Regions from separate parts of the Homo sapiens genome. Here region 1 is linked to region 2. Evidence: promoter capture Hi-C in 16 types of primary human blood cells and fetal thymus (Javierre and others, 2016). All regions are on one chromosome and are shown on one strand. The core of a region is centred on a gene start or on the middle of the fragment in contact, and the rest is flanking DNA. Distances in the headings are between cores, read along the strand shown.

What was found. The method cuts DNA at HindIII sites, captures the fragments that hold promoters and counts their contacts. A CHiCAGO score of 5 or more calls a contact.
Region 1: a contact is called between a fragment that was not itself captured here and the fragment with the promoter of SOD1 in region 2, in 1 of 17 cell types (erythroblasts). The highest score is 6.5, in erythroblasts.

Annotation. Positions count from the first base shown.
Region 1 is chr21:29,036,997-29,042,495 of GRCh38, reverse strand. USP16 (ubiquitin specific peptidase 16) reads right to left here. Exons shown (of 18, transcript NM_006447.3): 6 at 5,033-5,220; 7 at 4,066-4,161; 8 at 3,340-3,470; 9 at 2,928-3,015; 10 at 1,809-1,887; 11 at 392-483; 12 at 1-24. Among named protein-coding and RNA genes, the nearest start is that of USP16, 15 kb to the right of the region's middle. The HindIII fragment of the contact is 968 bases long and covers 2,884-3,851 here.
Region 2 is chr21:31,658,263-31,663,458 of GRCh38, reverse strand. It overlaps SOD1 (superoxide dismutase 1), which reads right to left and starts at 3,766. Exons shown (of 5, transcript NM_000454.5): 1 at 3,618-3,766. The coding sequence starts at 3,689. SOD1-DT (SOD1 divergent transcript) reads left to right here and starts at 3,435. Exons shown (of 3, transcript NR_187558.1): 1 at 3,435-4,062. RefSeq lists enhancers at 1,406-1,914, 1,915-2,424, 2,924-3,123 and silencers at 3,284-3,563, 3,834-4,153. The HindIII fragment of the contact is 11,893 bases long and covers 1-5,196 here.

The DNA.
Region 1 (5,499 bases), core at 2,118-4,617, 2.6 Mb after region 2:
GAAAGATTCATGAACCAAGGAGACCTTAACCAATCAGAAAAGACAGTGTAAAAATGTAAATACTGTAAATGTTACATAGTAAGATCCTCCCTGCCCTGTGGGATGGGGAGTAGGGGATGGGTTTTAAAATAAACAAAGGCTTAAGAAAATTTGAAATGAAAAATTACACAACATTGAGGACTTTGGGTTGGGGGAAATAAATCAAACTGTTTAACGTCTTCAAGATTTAAGGAGTGCTGACATTTCCCACAAAGAACCATGCACATCTGAATAGCATCTGAATAGTTTAAAAAGATATCCTATGAAGGTAGAGATTTCTGCTTTTGAAATAAACAATTGATAAACTGTTGAATATTAGCAAATAAACCCAGTATACATGACATCTACTTACAGTTCTGCATTGATCACACATGATCATACTAGTTAGTTCACCACCAAAGATGCGGTCAACAAAACTTGGCATTGATTTTTTCTTCTCATAATCTATGGAGAAAAAAAAGTCTATCAATTACCAATTACCGTTATATAATTAATTAAACAAGAAAAGCTAAAACTACTTACCTATCTAACTCTAAAATTTTATTTTAAATTTCCTGTCCCACAGACTTCTTCCTCCATTCATAATCACCTTTTTTAAGCAATAGAAGTCAGTATTATATATTCCACCTCTGAGCATAACATAATTGAACACAATCGCCTTTTATGAATAAGACAAAAAAGTCCTTATCCAAGATCTAGTCAGTGGGAAGTAAACTGTGCAAGTCAGTGAGACTTCTATGTCTTTCTCTCTCTCTCCATTAGTATAAAATGAACAGCTCAGAGTAGGCTGAATGACAGCCTAGTTCCTTAGTTCTAGCTCTAACATTCTAACATTCAAGACTGATAAAAGATACCAGAGTAGCAAACTGGGAGAGAAAATGCATGTAACTTGTTTTGTGAACTCTAAGACTGAACTCCTTTGATATTTTAAAAACAAAAGAAAAACCTCAGGAAAATATTTCAAACAAAATCTTCCTTTTATTTTCCTATGCTCCCAGAAATAATCTTGATAAGTTTAATATAACTAAAAGCCATAATTTTACTACTTGATCAGCCAATTTTCCAAATACGTGAAACCTATAAGCATTATTCAAATGATAATTTATGCAGAACCACACTTTTCTGACAGAAAATGCCAGCAGGGGTAATTCTCTCCATTACTGGCCAGGCTCTAAAGGGCACCAAGGAGGCAAAGAGTTGCTATGAGTTGATTCAAATCTGTGCTTTATAATACAGTGCCCTTAGTCACTTACGGCTATTTAAATTTAATTACAATTAAATAAAAATAAAAATGTAGTTCCTCAGTTTCACCAGTCACATTTCAGGCGCCACACGTGCCTAGTTGCTTCTATATGGAACAGCAAAGGTATAGAGGAGTTCCATCAACATAGGAAGTTCTACTGGGCAGATCTGCCCTAAATCTTTACACGCCACATAATAAGAACTAAGTTGGCTCCATGATTAATAAACCAACTACTGACAACTCACAGTAACAAATATAATTCATGTATTACTGCTAATTATAATTTTAAGCTTTTGAAAAGTAAAACTGTAATTCATCATAGTTCTATCTTTAATACATAAAAAGAATACACCATGGGGTAAAACTGTTCACTTCTGGAGCACTGAATAATTTTTACTAATCAACGTTGATAAAGAGAAATTATACATTAATAATTGTGGACTTGGAAATATATGTGCCAGCAATCTTGTCCTAAGGTACAGAGGAATTCAACTATAGTGTTTTAGTTCAAAAAGTCAGACATTACCTTTAACTTTATTTTTTAGTTCTTCATCCAACTTTTCAGTAGAATTACCAAATGCTTTAAGTATTCCTTTACTCACTCTCTAAAAGTAATAAAATGGATATATATATACTATTAAATTTTAAATTTTATTTTCCTTAGAAATATGTAATCAAGTCAAGAAAGTGATCAGGATACAGCTCCCCATATTTACTAAATAATTCCAAAATCACATTTTCAAACTTAATTCAAGGAGCTAAAAAGGAATTATGTCACAAAGCAATCACTAACCATTGAATAAAGGTATTATCTTATCATTTCAAGATCTTAAACCTCTTCAAGCCAAAGGTTTTCAGAACATGCCCACCACCTTTGAGAAGAAACTGAAATAGCTTGTCCTACAAGCACAATGATTACATGACAGCCACAGGGTCTGACTCCAGTGCTTAAAGCCCAGCTCCATTATTTCTGGGGGACCTTAAACTAGGTACTGAACTTCTCTACAGCCTAGATTCTCAATCTATGGAATAGGAAAAAATCACAGTATCCACCTCACAGAAACTTTGTGAGAACGAAGTAAGGGAATTAATACAAAACACTGAAAACAGTGATTGGCATAAAAATAAGTGCGAAATAAATATTAGTTATTATCACTATTATTAGTACTCATTAATTCATACCCCAAATACATTTTTTTATATCCTGGCAAGTAACAAAAATTTTAAAATGCAACCAATGTTCCCTGACTCTTACAAAATGAAAATACTTCCTAGGTTCAAAAAACAGTATTAAATCAGACTCAGAATTAAAAGTAAGGGTGTGCTGCACCTGGGTTTGGGAGAAACAATTTCCAATATTTGGCAGCTCTCTTCGTATAGGTTAGTACAACAGAATCTTTAAAGAACATTAATGCTGTAAACATCAACTAAACTTAAGCCATCATGAGAAAGAGAATTACTGCTAATTCTCTGGATTCATTCTAATGGTGAAAACATACTAGTTGAAAAAGCTGGTGTAAGAAAAAATTTTAAAGTATGATGGCCTTAATAACTAGCTTTCATTGTTTTAACTCGTAAGATATCAAATGAGACAGAAAGCTTATGAAGATAAGATCATAAAATACAATGGTCATAACATGCTAACTTGGTGTTCTTCTGCTCTCATCCCATCCAATAAGTAGCGAAGCAGCTCCTGGCTGTCTTGCTGCTGATAGCCTTTAAACCGCACTGCTCTAGAGAAAAACAAAAAGACAGAAAAGCAATCTTCAGTCTACTAAGCTCTGAAGCTATTTTTAGAAAATCTTAGGATCATATCCCAAATCTCAGAGAGTTCTGGTTTCTACAAATTTCCGTTTAGTCCATTAACACCCTTGGGAGATTTAACTATCACATAAAATATATTTTAAAATCCAAATGAAAAAAAACTATGCCTTTTGTATATAGAGGGTTGACTAAATGTAATGCTATTAATATTTTTATATTTTACTATTTAATATTAATATTATTTCTCAGCATCTCACTGAGGCACTGAAAGCACAATCGAAGTGGATACTCACTTTTTACAGACCTGAGAAAAGAGTTCTTTCGGTGTCACAACCCCCTTTTTGGTCTCTTGCATCTCATTAAGAAACTGGCTCATGGCTAAAGTAAGAGGGCCTGGAGGCTCAAGGTTTATTTCTAATGGTTCCTGAATATGGGAAAAGAAATTACTTTCTTCAGTCAAATTCTGGAATCACTGACTTTACTAAAATCTAATTAGTTAACATATACTACCAATGTTCCTGACAGAACTGCCCCATTTAAAAGTTTAAAATGTACATCAAAAGAGATAGAAACTGTTTGGTCACAGACTGTCTTATGCAGAATTCAGCTCTACTATTTTAGTTTTAGATTATCTGGAACACTTACTACCTAAGAATTGAAAGAGCCAAAGCAAAATGTAAATAATAAAAATGGATAAGGTAATATTTATTTGGTTACACAGCTCTTAAGTCACCTTAAAGATGTTAAAAATAATAATGTAAGCCTAAGGCTTCTCAAACATATACACATTCCCAAGAAGGAAGCTTAACACTCGAGCATAGAAAAACAGAGCACACACACAGCAAACAGATGTAATGCCTCCTTATAACTTCTATTAGCCTGAAACTGTTTAAGTTAGTAGCCTAAAGTAAAACAAAACAAACAAAAACAGTGGAAATGAGTGTCAGTTATTTAAAATAATTTAGAAAACACACATTCAGAGAGGAAAGTTACAGACTAGAAAAGTTTAAAGAACATACTGTTAATGCCAAATCAGGTGGTTCAATTTTTACAATTGTTCCAGACATTTTCACTTCTTTTAGTAGTTCTCTAAGCACTGGTGTTTGTGACAAGTTCTAGAATGTAGGGTGAAAAAAAAAGAGAAAAATTATTTAAAGGCAAATCAACTCTGACACTTCTTAAGTGTCTATTCTATCAAAACAGAAAATCATGACCAACACTGAAAACTCTATACTTGGAAAATGAAAAGTTACAGATGCTTCTCTCCCTACTCTATTTGGGTCATAACTACTTCAGTTCTGAGCTTATTCATCACCTCAGTGGGGCATTCTCCCACCACCCAATCAGAAGTAGCTATCCCCAATCCTCCACCATGACTCTCTCACAACCACTTACCACTACCTGTAGGTACGTATTTGCTTCTATATGAGGTTATCCTGTGTTTCCTCCACCCAAGTGCAAGCTCCATGAAAGAAGCAGCAATATTTCTTTCAAACCCACTGCACCCGAGTGCTCACCAAACTCTCTTACTGTCATGCAATAAAACTTTCCTTAAGTTTTCTTTGGCCAGGCATGGTGGCTCACGCCTGTAATCCAAACACTTTGGGTGGCCAAAGGGGGTGGACGGCTTAAGCCCAGGAGTTCAAGACTAGCCTAGGCAACATGGCGAAACCCTGTCTCTACAAAAGATACAAAAACTAGCTGGGAGTGGTGGCGCATGCCTGTAGTCCCAGCTACTCTGGAGGCTAAGGTAGGAGGACTGCTTGAGCCCAAGAGGTAGAGGCTGCAGTGAGCCACGATCGTGCCACTGCACTCCAGCCGAGTGACAGAGTGAGACCCTGTCTCAAAAAAAAAAAAAAAAAAAAAAAAAGTTTTCTTTGGATACATAGAAATAAATTACTCAGGTGGAAAAAACTCAATAATGTAAGTAGCAGATTCTATGAGGAAAAGGACAGCTTTTTTAAAGGGAAAAAAATGACAATGTACCTGCATAACTGCATTGAAGAAACATGTGTTTCCCAAATTACTGAGTCCTTTCACGGTTATTTGGCAAGGAGAATTCATGGGAGGATTCTCTTTAGCCATGTTTTCCTTCTTTTCTCTCTCTTGTTCATTCTTACTCTCTTTTTCTAATTTTTTATTTTCAAGTTCAATATTTCCATTATCTTTCTCTGCTTTAAAAAAAGAAAAGATTTAGCAAAATGTGTAATACAGTCATATCGAATGCAGAAGTATACTTGGGAAACAGTACTAGAGTTTGTGAGTTTACCTGAAGTCATTCTTTCCAACCCACCCACCCATTTGATTTTAAATAGATACAGGTAAATTGCCATCCAGAAAAAAAACACAAAACCCAGTAAACAAAAAATACTCAGACCTAAAGTAAGCATTAGTTTGATAAATGAAACCAAACAGTATGTGCTTTGGTATAAATCTCCCTTTTTTACTGCACG
Region 2 (5,196 bases), core at 2,517-5,016:
GGCTTTGACTATTACAGTAAATAGGTAATGTAAGTACCTATTTATGTAGTAAATACTTTTGAATAGGTTATATTTGTACATGTTGAATATACATGTACATGTAAACGTTTTTTATTTTGAGACAAGAGTCTCGCTCTGTCGCCCAGGCTGGAGTGCAGTGGCATGATCTCAGCTCACTGCAAGCTCCGCCTCCCGGGTTCACGCCATTCTCCTGCCTCAGCCTTTTTAACCCAAAAGGTGTATGTCTCATCCTACACTCTGGAGCCCCTTGCTTTTTCTCCACGCACACCCTTTTCCATATGGCATACTCACTTGACTTTAAAAAAAAAAAAAGAAAAAGTCGCCCTGGAAATGTCCAACAGGCTACCCTGGGACCCCTGCTCTCCACTCCCCACTCAGTGAGTGTTTTTAAGTGTCCATCATAAGTTTTTTTCTTTTTTTTTTTGAGACGAGTCTCGCTCTGTCGCCCAGGCTGGAGTGCAGTGACATGATCTCGGCTCACTGCAAGCTCCGCCTCCCAGGTTCATGCCATTCTCCTGCCTCAGCCTCCTGAGTAGCTGGGACTACAGGCGCCCACCACCACACCCGGCTAATTTTTTTGCATTTTTAGTAGAGACGGGGTTTCACCGTGTTAGCCAGGATGGTCTCCATCTGCTGACCTCGTGATCCACCCGTCTCGGCCTCCCAAAGTGCTGGGATTACAGGCGTAAGCCACCACGCCCGGCTATCACAGGTATTTTTAATTAGCAGTCAGAAAATATTATATTCCACTGCCCCCAGGAGAGGACTGATTCTAGTCTAACCAGACGTACTACTGCTTTCTGAAATCTTTTCAAGCACTGAAACCTAGGTAACCTTTCCACTCTACCAAAATGAAAGCAAGCAGTATAGCCATTCAGGTAATGGTGACAGGTAATGGTGCTCCGTGGCTACATACAGAAATCAAGGAAGTTACAACTAGATCTCAGGACTAAAATAAACACAACATCCACACCACACCGTCATACAACATGTCAGTGTCTCTTGTTTTTAGCTTGGTTTGTTTTCAAATACGGCCAACAGTTAAGGGGCATTAACCCTTAAGATGTGACTTTCCACTGGAAAATATCATTGCTCAAATGAAGTATCCTGGCAATTGCTGCCTTTTTAAATTCTTTTCTTTTTGACAATAGATACTGTGACTCTTCTACAACCTTTAATTTTGGAAAAACTCAAATGTGAAAGTTGTCCCTCAAACACTCTGTTATCAAGAGCACAGGGCCAAAAACAGCAGGTTCTTTGAAACCTCCATTTAACCGGTAATACATTCAGGACATCTAAGTAGCTGTGCTCGGGTACAACCCTGCAGGGACCAGGCTATGAACTTAAGTGAATAACACAGGCCTGGGAAGCGAAAAAATATATGAACTGCTACAGCAGTACTGTCCTGGGCTAATGAAGGCTCAGTATGAAGAGATCTCCAAAAATTCTTCAAGAGAAGCTAGGAAAACTGGATTAATACGTGAAAAATTCTGATCTGTAAAAACTAGCAAAGAGTCCAAGATTTTAAACACGGAATAGGCCAAGCCAAGTAGCTGATAGCCAATGTATTATCTCTGCATATCTGGAAAGCTGGAATGCTCCACTATCCAAGGCTCATTCTCAGGTACAACGGGCACCAAACAAAACGAAGTCAGGCGCTTAAAAGAAGGAACTATGCAAGCTGCTCAGGGAAGGTGGAAAACCTGGGTTCATGCATGGATTCTCAATGGCCAGGGAGAAGGGATTCCTCAGAGGCGTCTTAAGAATAGCACTGGTGGCCGGGCGGGGTGGCTCACGCCTGTAATCCCAGCACTTTGGGAGGCCGAGGCGGGTGGATCACGACGTCAACAGATCGAGACCATCCTGGCCAACATGGTGAAACGCCGTCTCTACTAAAATATAAAAAATTAGCCAGGCGTGGCGGCGCGCGCCTGTAGTCCCAGCTACCCGGGAGGCTGAGGCAGGAGAATTGCTTGAACCTGGGAGGCGGAGGTTGCAGTGAGCTGAGATCGCGCCACTGCACTCCAGCCTGGGCGACAGAGCGAGACTTGGTCTGAAAAACAAAACACTAGTACTGGTGAATTATGTGGGGAGAAGTAAAGAGGGACAAAAAGAAGTCTGACAAATGAAACAGCAAAATGGAGTCAAATGCCAAAGAACCTTTTCCAGAAAATCTGGAGACCTATTAAAGAAAAAGGCTAAACTCATTATCTCCCTCACATATATTTCAGACATTTACACAGACTAACTGTTCCTGTCCTCTCACGTTTCTGTAAACCCCTTTAAAGACTGAATCTCATTCGTATAGTAAATATTCCCTCATGATTTTTAAGCCGAGTGCAAGAGAAAATTTTCCACCAGTTGGTAACTTCACTAAGGTTCTGGGGACAGTGTTATCACAAGCACCTTCCTTGCAACACGTTTTGTAATTTTACTGATAAAAGTTCTGAAAATATTTCTGTATATTTTACAAGAGTCGTTCAGAAGTTTGTCTCTGACCATCTTAGCAACCTGCCTACTGGCAGAGCAATTTTAAAGCCACTTTACGAAAATGTGGCTTAAGAAATGCTCCGACAACAGTTATTAAGTGCCAATTCGGTGTAATGGAAACTCCAGGTCTTCTAATTTCCAAATACGAAACTCCACCCACTGTCCTCAAACGACAGTTCTCAATCGTAGGTGCACATCAAAATCACTTTTGGAAACTTTCAAAAAACAGCAATACTCACCCTGCACTAGGACAGGTTTTGATGTAATTGGTCGGAGGTTGGGCTCTGGTGTATTTTTAGTAAGATCTTCAAATAAGCTAACTGTGCACCCAAAGTTAAGATCACTGCCCTCAAAAATCCCCAAAAGGGTCAGTTAAACCTCTGGCTCCCGGAGCTTAGGAGGAGGAAAAGGACCTCTGTTCAAGGCTACCTTCTCTGCCCTTGCAGCCCAATCATGACCTAGAACAGAGGCCAGCAAACTTCCCTGCAAAGTGTCACACAAACGGTCTCTGTTGCGTATTTTTGTTTTCCAAAGCCTTTTAAAAATATAAAAACCATTCCTAGCCTTAGAGCTGTACAAAAGCGAAGACTCCCTGACCTAGAGCGCTGAAGCCGGAAAGCGGAGAGGGATGCGAAGACACCAGGCGGGCCCAGGCGCAGTCGCCATCCCCGGGCTGGGCCTGGCACTGCGCCACTCGGTGTCCGCGGGACCCTCAGGAACGAGAACACGGCCAAGCAAGGGACGAGCACAGCCGCTCCAGGCACCACGACAGACCCGCGGCGGCGGCCCAAGGACCACAGAGGGCAGCACGCCCGCCCCCGCCCCTCCCCGGCCCGCGGCAATCCCTCCCCGCGCTCCCGCCACGCGCAGGCCCAGCCCCGCGGCGGCCTCGGTCCCACGCCCCGCGCCCGGGCCCGCCCGGTGACTCAGCACTTGGGCACCGCACCGCTGGGGGCGAAGGCACCGACCGGGCGGCACGGGCCGGGACCGGGCGCTGGACCAGGGCGGCCCCGAGGCCTGGCGGGCGACCCGCTCCTAGCAAAGGTGCGCGGGGGGACGAGCGGGTGGGAGCGGCCTCGCAAACAAGCCTCCGTCCCAGCCCTTGCCTTCTGCTCGAAATTGATGATGCCCTGCACTGGGCCGTCGCCCTTCAGCACGCACACGGCCTTCGTCGCCATAACTCGCTAGGCCACGCCGAGGTCCTGGTTCCGAGGACTGCAACGGAAACCCCAGACGCTGCAGGAGACTACGACGCAAACCAGCACCCCGTCTCCGCGACTACTTTATAGGCCAGACCTCCGCGCCTCGCCCACTCTGGCCCCAAACCAATCGCCTCGCACGCGCTCAGCCCGCCCCCTGCGGCAGCCTCGGGTCGCGAGTGGCCGGGAATGACTGGGGGCGGGGCCAAGGGGCCGCGTGCGCCGGAGACTCCCCCCGCCCCGCAGCCGGGAAACGTCCAGAACCCCGAAATGTGGAGAAAACAACCTTCTTTTCACGGGGGCGTGGCCCGCCGGTTGCAGTACGCGAAATTGGCAAAATGATGTAAACAGGGTACGCTTTGAAAATCTGAAGTCACTTTGTCTAGAAATGTCATTAGTTATGACTGAGTTTGGCCACAGCGTCTCATTTGTTACTCAGCAATTGGGACGCCCCAAGATGGATGCTTTTGTAGTTTTCATTTTTTTGTCTTGTTTTTTAGTTTTCTGAGGGTATAGAAAGTCGCTACACCTCAATCCCGGGACTTACCTTTTCTTCCCCTGCAATTTTCTTAGTCCTTAGTATAGAGTTTCTTATTTGGTTGGCAGAATTCGGTATTCTTTTTATATTTTTCCTGTTTGGCAAGGCCACAACCCTACAGATAACCAAACGGCAACTAGTTGGCTTCTAGGCATCACCTGCGTTTTTGTCTGGCCTAAAGGCCACAACACTCAAGGAGGGTAGAATGGTGAAATAATTTATGATGCCTCCATACAACAGGAATGATAAATATGACTTACCTTTCAAGGGAAATATTTCAAAAACATATTGTGAAATGAGAAAATAGTGCAAACTACTTTTGTCCGGGGCGAGGGGGTTGTTTGTTTGATTTTTGAGACAGGGTCTCGCTCTGTCACCCAGGCTGGAGTGCAGTGGCGCCATCATAGCTCACTGCAGCCTCCACCTCCTGGGTTCAAGCCATCCTCCTGCCTCAGCCTCCCAAGTACCTGGGACCACAGGCATGTGCCACCACACCTGGCTGATTTTTGTATTTTGGGTACAGATGGGGTTTTACCATGTTGCCCAGGCTGGTTTCAAACTCCTGAGCTCAAGCCAGCCATCTACCCACCTCGGCCTCCCAAAGTGCTGGGATTACAGACATGAGCCACCACGTCCAGCCTAGTACTTAATATTGAGTATGGCAAAATACTGAGACTTAATTGAAGTCCAGTGTGAAACAACAATAGAAGCTATTCCAGCCTCGTTTGGAGTACACTACTATCGATTTATTTACTTATTTATTATTTACGCTATTTAGACCCTCAGACTCTAATGCATCCTCTATCAGAGAAATACAATTCACATTTTTTTATCATCCTCTAGGAAGTATACATATTTGCAGTTTTGCCTGTTGTATTTGGTAGTAGTCTCCAGATAATTCGTATATTCTAAACGGTTGCATAAACAGTGCAAATGCTGGCCAAAGGG